3 separate regions of the Homo sapiens genome follow, and regions 1 and 2 are each linked to region 3. The links are contacts of gene promoters, found by promoter capture Hi-C in blood cells and fetal thymus (Javierre and others, 2016). All regions are on one chromosome and are shown on one strand. The core of a region is centred on a gene start or on the middle of the fragment in contact, and the rest is flanking DNA. Distances in the headings are between cores, read along the strand shown. Region 1 has its middle 14 kb from the start of LINC03004. Region 2 has its middle 35 kb from the start of LINC03004. Region 3 holds the start of IL20RA (interleukin 20 receptor subunit alpha).

Evidence for each region. Contacts are between HindIII fragments. The CHiCAGO score rates a contact against its expected background, and 5 or more counts as called.
Region 1: a contact is called between a fragment that was not itself captured here and the fragment with the promoter of IL20RA in region 3, in 2 of 17 cell types (naive B cells and total B cells). The highest score is 5.4, in naive B cells.
Region 2: a contact is called between a fragment that was not itself captured here and the fragment with the promoter of IL20RA in region 3, in 4 of 17 cell types (total B cells, monocytes, naive B cells and 1 more). The highest score is 7.2, in total B cells.

What each region holds. Positions count from the first base shown.
Region 1 is chr6:137,649,874-137,653,888 of GRCh38, forward strand. No RefSeq gene overlaps it. Among named protein-coding and RNA genes, the nearest start is that of LINC03004, 14 kb to the right of the region's middle. RefSeq lists enhancers at 853-1,022, 3,072-3,588. The HindIII fragment of the contact is 1,065 bases long and covers 1,116-2,180 here.
Region 2 is chr6:137,628,182-137,632,227 of GRCh38, forward strand. No RefSeq gene overlaps it. Among named protein-coding and RNA genes, the nearest start is that of LINC03004, 35 kb to the right of the region's middle. The HindIII fragment of the contact is 2,496 bases long and covers 1,082-3,577 here.
Region 3 is chr6:137,042,629-137,046,646 of GRCh38, forward strand. IL20RA (interleukin 20 receptor subunit alpha) reads right to left here and starts at 2,337. Exons shown (of 7, transcript NM_014432.4): 1 at 2,013-2,337. The coding sequence starts at 2,100. RefSeq lists silencers at 1,830-1,879, 1,950-2,059, 2,090-2,149. The HindIII fragment of the contact is 2,398 bases long and covers 1,143-3,540 here.

The sequences.
Region 1 (4,015 bases), core at 398-2,897, 610 kb after region 3:
CTCGGTGTTAAGCATTTTACATGTATTATATATTACTATCCTCATAGGTAACCTGTGATGTTGGAATTATTATTAATCTAAATGTACAGATAAGAAAAGGGAGAAAACAGCAGTTGACTGACTTGCTCAAGGTCACTCAGTAACAAAGAATGGAAGGAGGATTCAAACTCAGAGCCTCTTGATGCCTATCTATCTATCTATCTATACATATATATATATACACATATATATATGCACACAAACACATATACATAACTTAGTATATGTTATAATATATAGATATATATTATACCTATTATCTATCTCTCTACCTATGTGTGTTTACATATGCATATATACACGTGTATATATACACATATATAATTTAGTATATGTAATATATAGATTATATATTCTATCTATGTGTGTATACATAGGTATATATACATATATAACTTAGTACATATTCTAGTATAATATATAGATATATATTCTATCTACCTATCTAGGTGTGTATACATAAGTGTATATATACATGTGTATATATACACATATATAACAGTATATATAATTTATAGATTATATATTCTATCTATCTATCTATCTATCTATCTATCTATCTATCTATCTACCTGTCTATCTATCATCTCTGTCTCTCTCTCTCTATCCATCTATCTTTTAGCAGAATTTTGTCTCTGCAAAGTTCAGGATCAGCAATAGAGACCCTTAAGCTAACATGAAATATGTACAAGGCTGATGGCCACTTTACCCTGCAGGATGAGAGAGTGAAAAGGAGCTGGCCTTTTCAAAACGGCAGGAGAATAGCCTGAGGCTGGCTAATTTCGGCAATCAAGCTGGTGGCAGTTTATCTATAAACATGAGGCTATGAGGCCAGCATGCATGGGTTTTTTTTGTTGTTGTTGTTGTCAAAAAGATGCTTAAGGAAGAAAAGGGAGAAGGAGGAGGAGAAAGAAGTGAAAAAACAAACAATATTTACTAAAGCTGAACTTATGCATAGCCTATGACCTAGCAATTCTATTCCTAGGTGCTCACCCAACAGAAATAGGAACATGTGATCACCTAAAAAGAGGAGTATTTATTTATAGCAGTGCTATTTGTAATAGACCTGAACTGGAAGCTTCCCATTGACATTAATAGTGGAAGGAATAAAGTAATCAGAAATATTAATCAAATGGAATATGATCCAGCAATGAGAATAAACAATTTACTACTGTATGCAACAGATGGATAAATCTCACAATCATATTGTTGAAAAAAGAAGCAAGACACAAAAACATGTAAGCTGTCTGAGTCCATTTATACAAAGTTCAAAAGCAGATCAAACAAATCTGTGCTGGGAGAAGTCCAGGTGTGATACCCTACCTTGTTTTAACCTGATTGACTCTCTCTTATCTGAGAGAGCAGGACAGACTCCACTTTGGTTTCTTCGCTTGCAGCCCCTCGTTCCCCCTGCTTAAGGACATAACTGGTGCAAGCTAACTCCAAGTACATCCAGGAATTGCTTACTGATAAGATACTGAGGCAAGCTGTACTACCCACTCCTGGAAACGTGCTTGGTTGATGGTACCCAAAGCCCCTGCGTTTATCACTTTGTGATAGCTTAAGCCCCTGCACCTGGAACTTTTTATTTTCCTGTAACAGTTTCTGTAACCATTTATCTTTTACTTTTTGCCTGTTCTGCTTTTGTAAAAATTGCTTCAGCTAGACTCCCCCTCCCCTATTTAGACCAAGGTATAAAAAGAAATCTAGCCCCTTCTTCGGGGCTGAGAGAATTTTTGAGCTCTAGTCGTCTCTCGGTCCCCGGCAATAAAGGACTCCTGAATTAGTCTCAAAGTGTGGTGTTTCTCTATAACTCGCTCGGTTACAACACAGGTAGTGCTGACCTTTGTTGCGGGGGTGGGGAAGGTTTGAAAGAGCAGGTAGGGAGTTGCCAGGTACAGGTAATTGTCTATTGCTTAATCAGGTGATGGGTCAGTTGATTAAAATTTGTTGAGTGGTATGCAACGAATATGTGCAACTTTCTGCACTTCAATAAAAAAAAATTCTTAAATGAAAAAAAAAGGACACCTCAACTGAAGATGAGAATGTCTTAGCAGGCATTATCCCCTTGTCACTCCCTGAATCCATGGACAGCAGACCAGATTCTGGGGCCCAAAGTAGAAGGACAGGAACCTGAATGAAGCTTACTCCTTCTCTGGGTGATCACATAATGCCTTAGAAAACAAATGAAAAGGGAGACTGTCTGCATGCCACATGCAAAGTCCTGTAGGGGAGAATAGGCCAAGGATGATGTGGCGTGGTGTGGGATGGCAGAGAGATAGGGACAGGAATTCTGTGGGCAATGCTGGCACTGACTGACAGTGTGTTTTACCTAGAAGGGGCTTTGTTCATCATGCCATATGACCCTCTAACCTTATATTTGGAGAGCAGAAGCCACAATCTACTGAAATAATCTGCCTGAAGCTTTATATTTACTATCTCAAGTCTTTGTATTGATTGAAGACCTTTCAGTTATTTGGCCTACAAAGTGACTCACCAAGACAGCCAAGTATAAAGGGGTCCCCGGAGAAATTCCAACTGGCCTGTGCACTGTGAGGAGTGTGCACTGGGGCGGAGCCTCAGGAAGTTTGCGCCATTTGCAGGGGAGGAAGAGCCTGGCTGGCCTCTCCTGATCCAGTGTGATAACCTGGGGACTCAGTCTGTGAGATGGGGAGCCTCTCTCACTTTGCTGAGTTTTTTTCCTTTTCACCCAATAAAACACTACCCTCCTCACCCTTCAAACTGTCTGTGAGATTAATTTTTCTTGGTCATGTGGCAAGGACGCTGTCTTTAGCTCAACTAAGGAAAAAGTCCTACAACAGCTTTGGTGCCCAGAACATAGGGCTTGAGAAGGGGTGAGTGAAATGGGGACTCAAAACCTCTCACATTCGCTTCTGAGCCTTTTGGTCCTATGGCATTCCTCTTCTTTTTTTCAGGACATTAATGACATGAAAACTTTTTTTTTTTTTACAATACTGGAGGTGGTTCACACACACCCCAATGGCCACAGGCATGTGTATGGGACAGTTGGGTGGGGCAGCTCCCTGCTCCCCATTCTCTACTGTCTGGGGTGCATGGCTGAGTCTGCCGCATGTATGCACAGTGTCCAACAGCCATTAACAATGGAATGAGCCAAGGGTGGGAATGAGCCACAGCAGCTGCCTGAGCCCCAAGGGATCCCATGCAGCTGGCGGTATTCCCTGCCAGGCACCCATGGAGTCTCCCCCTCCCCCAGCCAGGGAGTCCAACCCCATCAGACAGCAATTAAGCTTCTCTCTAGGGTGGAGGAACTATTTGCATAAGAATAAGAGGTTTTTCCCCCAGGCATCCCTTTTTCTTCTCCACTCCATCAGCAGTTAACTTTTAAATGAGTTTATTTTTCCTTTTAGAAGACATTTTCTTAGGCTAGGAATGATAAGGATCATTATCATAATTTAGTCCACCTATTTATGTGGACTAATTATGTTTATATTCTCTGTAAAGTTTTAATTGTGAAAAAGGATTTGTGAGGTTGGTCTTAAGCTGTAGCCAATGTGGTATGCTTTGCATGTCTGTGTGGTCAGTAGCAAACTTTGCTGCACACCTCCATCTTGTTTTATGTCCTGAGGGCATATGTCCTGAGGGTGTGGCCTGTAACCACATGGCAAGGCTTTGTTTAGCAATCCTGCCTAGGGAATGAGTCCTTTCTGGTTTGATATCTGCACATTTTCCTAGCCCTGTCTCTTAAAGGGCTCCACCCAGCGACTGGGTTTTCTTCTGCCTGTCTGTGTAGCTATATATGTGTTATGTATATGATGTCTGTAAAAAGAGCTCTAATTAATTTGGCCTAAAGGAAGACAAGCACTTGAATCAAGTATTTTTTTAAGGGAAGATAAAAGCTGTGGTAACTTTCAGTTCAAGCGACTTTAATCTTTGAGAAATAAGGCAGTCGTAAAGGTTATTGGTAAAATGCAGATGTCATCAAAATATAAATAGG
Region 2 (4,046 bases), core at 1,080-3,579, 590 kb after region 3:
GGACTGTGCCTTCTTTCATATTGTCACCCCAGCATAATGTTGGGAATAGTAGCTATTCAGTAAGAATCTGAATAAATGCGTTTTACTGCCATTATTTTGAGTTCCTAACTCTAGAAAGATACTTGCTTATGTCTAAAATAAAAAGGACCCAGTTATTTTTCCATGAAATGGCACATGTTAAAGTGGAATTCATTTTGGATTAGGCAGACCTAAAGCTTTAGATTTGTTTTTACATTTTTGAAAATTTCAGGATTTTCTCTAATTAAAAAAATTTTACACTAGGTATGGTCCTAGGATTAAGAGTAAAGAAGGTCAGCCAGGCGCGGTGGCTCATGCCTGTAATCCCAGCACTTTGGGAGGCCGAGGCGCGCGGATCATGAGGTCAGGAGATCGAGACCATCCTGGCTAATACGGTGAAACCCCGTCTCTACTAAAAATACAAAAAAAATTAACCGGGCGTGGTGGCGGGCACCTGTAGTCCCAGCTACTTGGGAGGCTGAGGCAGGAGAATGGTGTGAACCCGGGAGGCGGAGCTTGCAGTGAGCCAAGACTGCGCCACTGTACTCCAGCCTGGGCAATAGAGTGAGACTCCGCCTCAAAAAAAAAAAAAAGTAAAGAAGATCTTTAGAAAGTTTCTCTTGTATAAGGAAAATGTAAATAGGCTCATTGTAGAGAGAACCATAGCTTTGGGCTTGTCCATGTCATGGAGTTTAAATGTCTCTATAAATAAATTACACTGTCACTATATATATATAGTAATGTGTACGTGTGTGTGTACACATTATATACACACACATATACATATATGGTCTGTGGCCTGTCAGTATGTGTGTGTATATATATGTATGTGTATGTGTATATATATATGTATGTGTATGTGTATATATATATATATACACACACACATATATACACACACACACACATATATATATATGGTCTGTGGCCTGTCAGTATGTGTGTATATATATATGTATGTGTATGTGTATATATATATATGTATGTGTATGTGTGTATATATATATATACACACACATATATACACACACACAGGCTTTATATGATAAGGCTTTATATACAAAGCTTCATTATTATTATACATATATACAGGTATCATTATACACGTATGTATGATTGTGTGTGTGTGTGTATATATATATATGTATAAAGCCTCATTATCAAGAGATATAGCAAGAACACTGGATATAATAAGACTGAGCTCACTAAAGCAAAAGGAGTCAACTGCTTAACTAGGCAAATTTTGAAAATTTCCTTCCAAATCAGTAAAAAGAGGCCCAAGACTCCATAACCAGAAATTCTGATGTTGTATTGCTTGCAACAATTAGAATAAGACGAGATCTCAAATGTATGCTACAGAGCAAGGGTCCTCAACCCCCGGGACCATGGATCCATACTGGTCTGTGGCCTGTCAGGAACAGGCCTCACAGCAAGAGGTGAGCCGTGGGTGGGTGAGCATTACCGCCTGTGCTCCACGCCTCCAGTCAGATCAGTGGGGCCATTGGATTCTCATAGGAGCATGAACCCTATTGTGAACGGCGGATCTAGGTTGCCGGCTACTTATAAGAATCTAGTGCCTGGCGATCTGAGGTGGGAACAGTTTCACCCCAAAACCATCCCCTCCCCAAACCCACTTCCACGGAAAAATTGTCTTCCACGATACTACTCCCTGGTGCCAAAAAGGTTGGGAGCCACTGCTATAGAGGGTTCTCCAAAAGACAGAAAATATTTGTATCAAAAAAAATGACTTTGCCCATGCAGGAGTAGAAAGTACTTAAAATATTGCCTCATTTTAATTCTGAAATCATTTGTTTGAGGTAGCACTTCTAGGCCTCATCTTTTTTTGCCAGAACAATGTCCAAAACCATCAGCGAGATTGAGCTAATGGGCCAGGTGCGGTACCTTATGCCTAGCACTTTGGGAGGCTGAGGCGGGCAGATCACTTGGGGTCAGGAGTTTGAGACCAGCCTGGCCAACATGGTGAAACCCTGTCTCTACCAAAATTACAAAAGCAAATGTATCCAGGCACGGCAGTGCACACCTGTAGTCCCAGCTACTCGGGAGGCTAGGCAGGAGAATCACTTGAACCCGGGAGGCAGAGGCTGCAGTGAGCTGAGACCGCACCACTGCACACCAGCCTGGGCAACAGAGCAAGGCTACATCTCAAAAAAAAAAATTGAGCTAATGAGTGTGAAAGTACTTTGCAAATTCCAAATTACTTTGTATAAGTTAGTTAGTCCTATTTCTCTTGTGCTTTGAGATTCTGACATCGTATCCTGTGGTTCATAATAACTAGATAGCTCTAGTAATTCAAAGCTACATAAAACGTGGTTATTAAGTGAAATCATTAGAAATGTGTCCAGAAAAAAATTGCATTTTCTGAAGGACAGAAAATACACGTATATCTCTCTTGGAGAGTTTCAAGTAAGGGCTGCCTTAGGGTCCCCTATTAATGAGGCCATCTCTGACCCCTTAGGTGTGGATGTTCAGTTGTTACAATGTTTCTAACACTACTCTATTAAAAAGGCCAAAAACTAACTGCACAACAGATGGGCAAGTGCCCATTATGGGCCTGCCCTGTCAGTGCACTCTGCTGCAGCTGTGGTTGGACTTGCTCCCTTGGCAATTCCTGGGCTCACAGTGGTCAGTGAAATACTTAGGCAGGACGTGGAAGGTCCTAAGGTGCTGTGACAATGCTCCAGCCTCTACTCTTGTGTCTGGATGTGAGAGGATATGGCATAGACAGCTGAAAGCCTCAGAAGACAGGTGGAGTCCAGGAAATTCCATTTGCAGCTATCTTTATCAGGGTGAGCTGCAATTGTTTGCTGTGATAGTGAGCTGAAAGCAACAGTTCTATCAGATTATTTTTTAGAGATGACTAAAGTACACTATAGAAAGGAAGTGCTCAAGATCTGTTTGCTGATGTATTGCTTGCTTCATAAAGCTACCTATTAAGAAAGACACAAAATAACGAAATAATAGCCTAAACAATGTTAAAATAGGAAGATAGAAATAGGACTTTCTCTTTCTCATTTCTAAAGTGTGTATAGAGTTCTCTTATTCTCTCTATAGCATTCAGATACCCACTGGGAAGAAAACAAAAACAAAACCAGAAACCATCATAGATATTTCACAATGAGAAAGTTTGTTACAGGGAATTGGTTTCACCAATAATGGGAAAGCTGAGAAGCCAAATAAGGAGCAGCGAGAAACAACCCAGTGCTTAGCAATACAATAGCAGCAAGCTGCTACCACCTTAGGGCTGGAAGGAAGCTGGAGTTGCAGGGTCTGATGAGCCAGAGCTGTACAGCAGGAGTTACCATAGTCAGTACTTCTGGCAGCAACTGGAGCCAGAAGTTTAATTTCCTTATATGGTAAAGCAGAGGTTGTATTGTGCGATTACCTTGACTAAGAACTATCCTCTGACAGAGTTTCCAGGTTACCTCTCTCTCTTTCTGGATGTTCTTGATAGAGACAGAATCCAGTTATATTTTCTCCACTTTGCTAGATGATGTTATGGCCATCTATCTTTTACAAATAAATGCTAGTTAATTATTTAAGCTTTAGCAGTAAGCCTGTTCTCAGATCTAATTAAACATAAGTGAAAAATAAAAGACACACAGGCATGTACTCTACAGTTTAAAGCATGAAACTTTCCCTTTTTCTGTTAGGGAAAAAGTCAATTCTCCTTGAAGTGTATGGTGGTCTACTGCAAGTTCACTTTCAGCTCTGCTCCCACTCCTCCCCTAGTCTGCTCTGAATCAGAGGGGACTCTGAAAATAAAACATAAGTATTGTTTCCTCACCCAGATACAGTGCAGGTCTTAATACCATTTCTGAAATGTGCTAACTTTGGCCCTTGCCTAGATTACTCTTAAACTCTGTAATAGAAACCAACTGGGCTGGTTTCATGGAAGACAAATTTCCATGGATGGAGGGTGGCGGGGGATGGTTTCAGGATGAAACTGTTCCACCTCAGATCATCAGGCACTAGATTCTTATAAAGAGTTGGCAACCTAGATCCCTCAC
Region 3 (4,018 bases), core at 1,087-3,586:
ATGAAATACCAAGATTTCCCTACAAGGTTCATGACATGCTGAGTTTTTTTTTTCCTCTTTGGATGTTTTGGTATTTTACAGCCTGATATGGCACTGAGCTGTGAGACGAAAATTTTTAGAAGTTTAAAAAATGAGAGCATTAAAGCATTAATCTACCTGAGAGTGGCAAAGTCATAGAACCTTAGTAAGCCCACGTTGTACAGAAGACATTGTAGATAATCCTTCAATTACGAGCAGGTAGTATCCAGGTAACTACATACATCTTCTAAGGTGGTCTTCCCAGCAGTCCTTAGACCTTAGCCCAAAGACCCAGGAGAGGACGGGAATACCCTAAGAAGAGCTAAGAAAGTAGTATCAAGGTCTCTTGGGTCAGAAAAGATTTCTTACTGTTTTGTTTTGTAAATTTTATTTTGAAGTCAAGAACATTACTACCTGGTAATGTCAGCACCCAACAATTTTATTTCTCTCTCTCACTTTCTTTGTTTTTGGTTTTTTCCCCAAAGACAGGGTCTCACCCTTGGCCAGACTGGAGTGCAGTGGCGTGATCATAACTCACTGCAGTCTGGAACTCCTGGGCACACGGAGTAGCTAGGACTACAGGTTTTTGCCACCACGTCTGGCTAGTTTTTTATTTTTATTTTTTTAATGTTTAGTATAGACAGGGGTCTCCGTATGTTGCCCAGGCTGGTCTGAAACTCCTGACCTCAAGCCATCCTCCTGCCTATGTCTCTGTCTCTCAAAGTGTTAGGATTACAGGTGTGAGCCACAGCGCCCAGCTTCTCTCTTCGATTAAAAATAAAAACAAATTTCTGTCTGTTAGTTGAAGGCTCAATATTTGCACGTCAGTCGTTTCTTCCCATTCAGTCTACCCGGGAATATTAAAAGGAAAAATAACTATAATTTCTGATAAATTTAAAAGATAAAATATTTTATGTATAATAGCTATCGTTCAAAATCTCTCCAAGATCTGTGTGCATACTTTTCTTATTGTTGTAACTATATTGAATTTAACTTTTTCTTTAACTACCAAGGACTCCAGATTCACCGTCAACTTTCTTCCTGCATTCACTCTTACTGTTCAGTTCTGGGTTAAAAGACAGCGGGGCCTGAACGAAGTGTCTACAAAGCACAGTATTTGGAGAAGCTTTGTTGTTGTTTTTTAAAATAATTTTTTTAAAAAGGGATCCCGGATATCTTTTTTGTTTTTTTAAAAAATCTTTTTCTCATGTACGAGAAATACAGGGAAAAAAAGCAATCAGGTTAATGAATCATTCTGGTTTACTGGATTCCAATTGGTAGAGAATTTAAACTTAAAAACCAAACAAAACGAAAGAGCTCTTCAGTTACCTTATGTCGTAAACGAGTTAAAAGTTTTGTTATTTCTGAAAAATCAAAGAGCACTATCTGTACATGGTCATAACTGCAAAGGAAACAACGGCGTACCCAGGACAGGGGGAGCTTACTTTAAGAAGCTGCGTCTTTCTGGATCATGTTCCTTCGGGGCTGACCCTTTCGGGGAGTTTGGCTTTTAAAGCGCGGATCTCGCGACGCGCGGCTTGCAGGACTGCGGGGCCCGGCGGCCGAGACGCGGCATCCACAGGGGCCCCTCCGCGCGGCCGCGGCGGTGGTGGCGGGAACCTGGGACTGGCCGGCGAGGGGCCCCGCATGGTAACCGTCCCCGACCGCAAGTCATAGGCTGTGGGCACCGCGCAGAGCGCACCCCCCACCGAACTCCCCCCACCCCACCTCAATTCTCGAGACCGAAAGTGCGGAGCGCGGAGTCCTGCAAACTTGACCCCGAGCCAAGGTGCGCGAGGCGACGGCGAGTGTCCCCCGGGCTCCCTGCAGCCCCGGGGCTGGAAGCTCCGGCCTCCGCGCACCTCGTCCTCTGCCCGCCCGAAAGCGAAACCTGGCCGGCGGGCAGGAGGGGAGAGCTCGGCCTCGAGCTCTGCCTGGCGGGGCCCCGGCCTGGAGGCATCCCCGACCCGCACCTGGCGGCGCGACCCACCTACCTGCCCGTCCCCAAGGCGCCGCCAGGAGCAACAGCAGCAGCGGCGGCAGCGGCAGCGGCCGCAGGGCCGGGCGGCCGGGAGCCCGCATGGGCGGCGGGGCTGGGTCACATGTCGGGGGGCAGCAGACTGCTCAGTCCCACGCCCGCTGGGGCCAAGCGCGGCCGCGCGGCCTCAGCTCCGCGCCTGGGGCTCTGCGTGCCACGCTCCAGGCGACCTGAGTCCCAGGGCGCCTCCGCCACAGCCGCGTCCCCCAGGCTTCCCCAGAAACCAAGGGCGAGCGACTCGCGGAGCCCCCACGCGCGCTCCCCCGGCTACCCAGCTGGATGGCAGCGCGAGGGCAGTTCTCGCGGATTTATAGTCCCCAGCCACTCGGCTGTCAGTCCTGAGAGTCTGAGAGTTTCCACCTCTCGGGGTTCATGCCCAGACCAACCAGGTCACTAGGCAGGTAAAACCTCCTTCTGGTAATGAGCGAGGCGAGTGCATTGCAAAGAGATTCTGGTATTCAGGCCGGTCTGATGGTCAGTTAAAGTTCAATATCGGAAGACGGATGAAATAGAGCGTTATTTCTCGATATACAGTTAGGCACTCAGCCGTAGATCTTACAGTCATGCATCATTTAAGATGACAGGATTACCTCCTGAGAAATGTCTTAGGCGAGTTTCTTGTGTGAACATCTTAGAGTGTACTCACACCTATATGGTATAGCCTCTTACACGCCTACGCTATATGGTACAGGCTGTTGTTTGCTCCTAGGCTACAAACCTGTACGGCAAGTGACCATACTGAATACTGCAAGCAATTGTAACACAATGGTAAATATTTGTGTATCTAAACATGTCTGAACGTAGAAAAGGTACAGCAAAAGTACAGTATGAAAGATTTTAAAAATGGTACACCTGTATAGGGCACTTTCCATGAATGGAGCTTGCAGGACTGGAAGTCGCTCTGGCTGAGTCTGTGAGTGGTGAGTCAATGTGAAGGCCTAGGACATCACTGTGTACTACTATAGGCTGTATAAACACTGTATTACACTTAGGCTATGCTAAATTTATTAAAAAATTATTTCTTCAATAATAATAAATTAACCTTAGCTTACTATGATTTTTTACTTTCTACTTTTAAATCTTTTAAACTTTATTTATTTATTTATTTTTGAGATGGAGCATTGCTCTGTAGCCCAGGCTGGAGTGCAGTGGTGCGATCTCGGCTCACTGCAACCTCTGCCTTCCGGTTTTGATGATTGTCCTGTCTCACCCTCCAGAGTAGCTGGGATTACATGTGTGTGCCCCCACGCCCGGCTAATTTGTTTGTATTTTTAGTACAGACTGGGTTTCGCCATGTTGGCCAGGCCGGTCTCGAGCTCCTGACCTCCGGTGATCTACCCTCCTTGGCCTCCCAAAGTGCTGGGATTACAGGCGTGAACCACGACACCCGACCTAAACTTTTTGACTTGTAATAACGTTTGACTTAAAACACAAACACATTGTGCAGCAGTATGAAAATATTTTTTCTTTGTATTCTTTCTATAAGCTTTTTCTATTTTTAAATTTTTCTTTTTCTTTATTTTTTCTTTACTTTTTAAACTTTTTTGTTATAAACTAAGGCACAACCACACACATTAGCCTAGGCCTGCACAGGGTCAGGATTGTCAGTGCCACTGATGCCACCTCACATCCTGTCCTCCTGGAAGGTCTTTAGAGACAATAGGAATTTTTTCAGCTCTATTATAATCGTATGAGACCACCTTTGTATATGCAGTCTGTCACTGACTGAAAAGTTGTTATTTGATTTCATTCAACTCTCACAACCTGCAGTTAGGTCCTGGCCCTTTTTTCAGATGAGGCAAGGGAAACTCAGAAAGTCTAGGAATCATCATGAAGTCCCCCAAACCTGTGAGTGGCCTGTGACCAGTGGTGTGTGGACTTCCACACAAGGCGGTGGGTCCTAGGTTCCATGCTCTTTATAATGGGAGGGGGGAAGGGTGCAATTAAGAGGTGAGTCTTGAA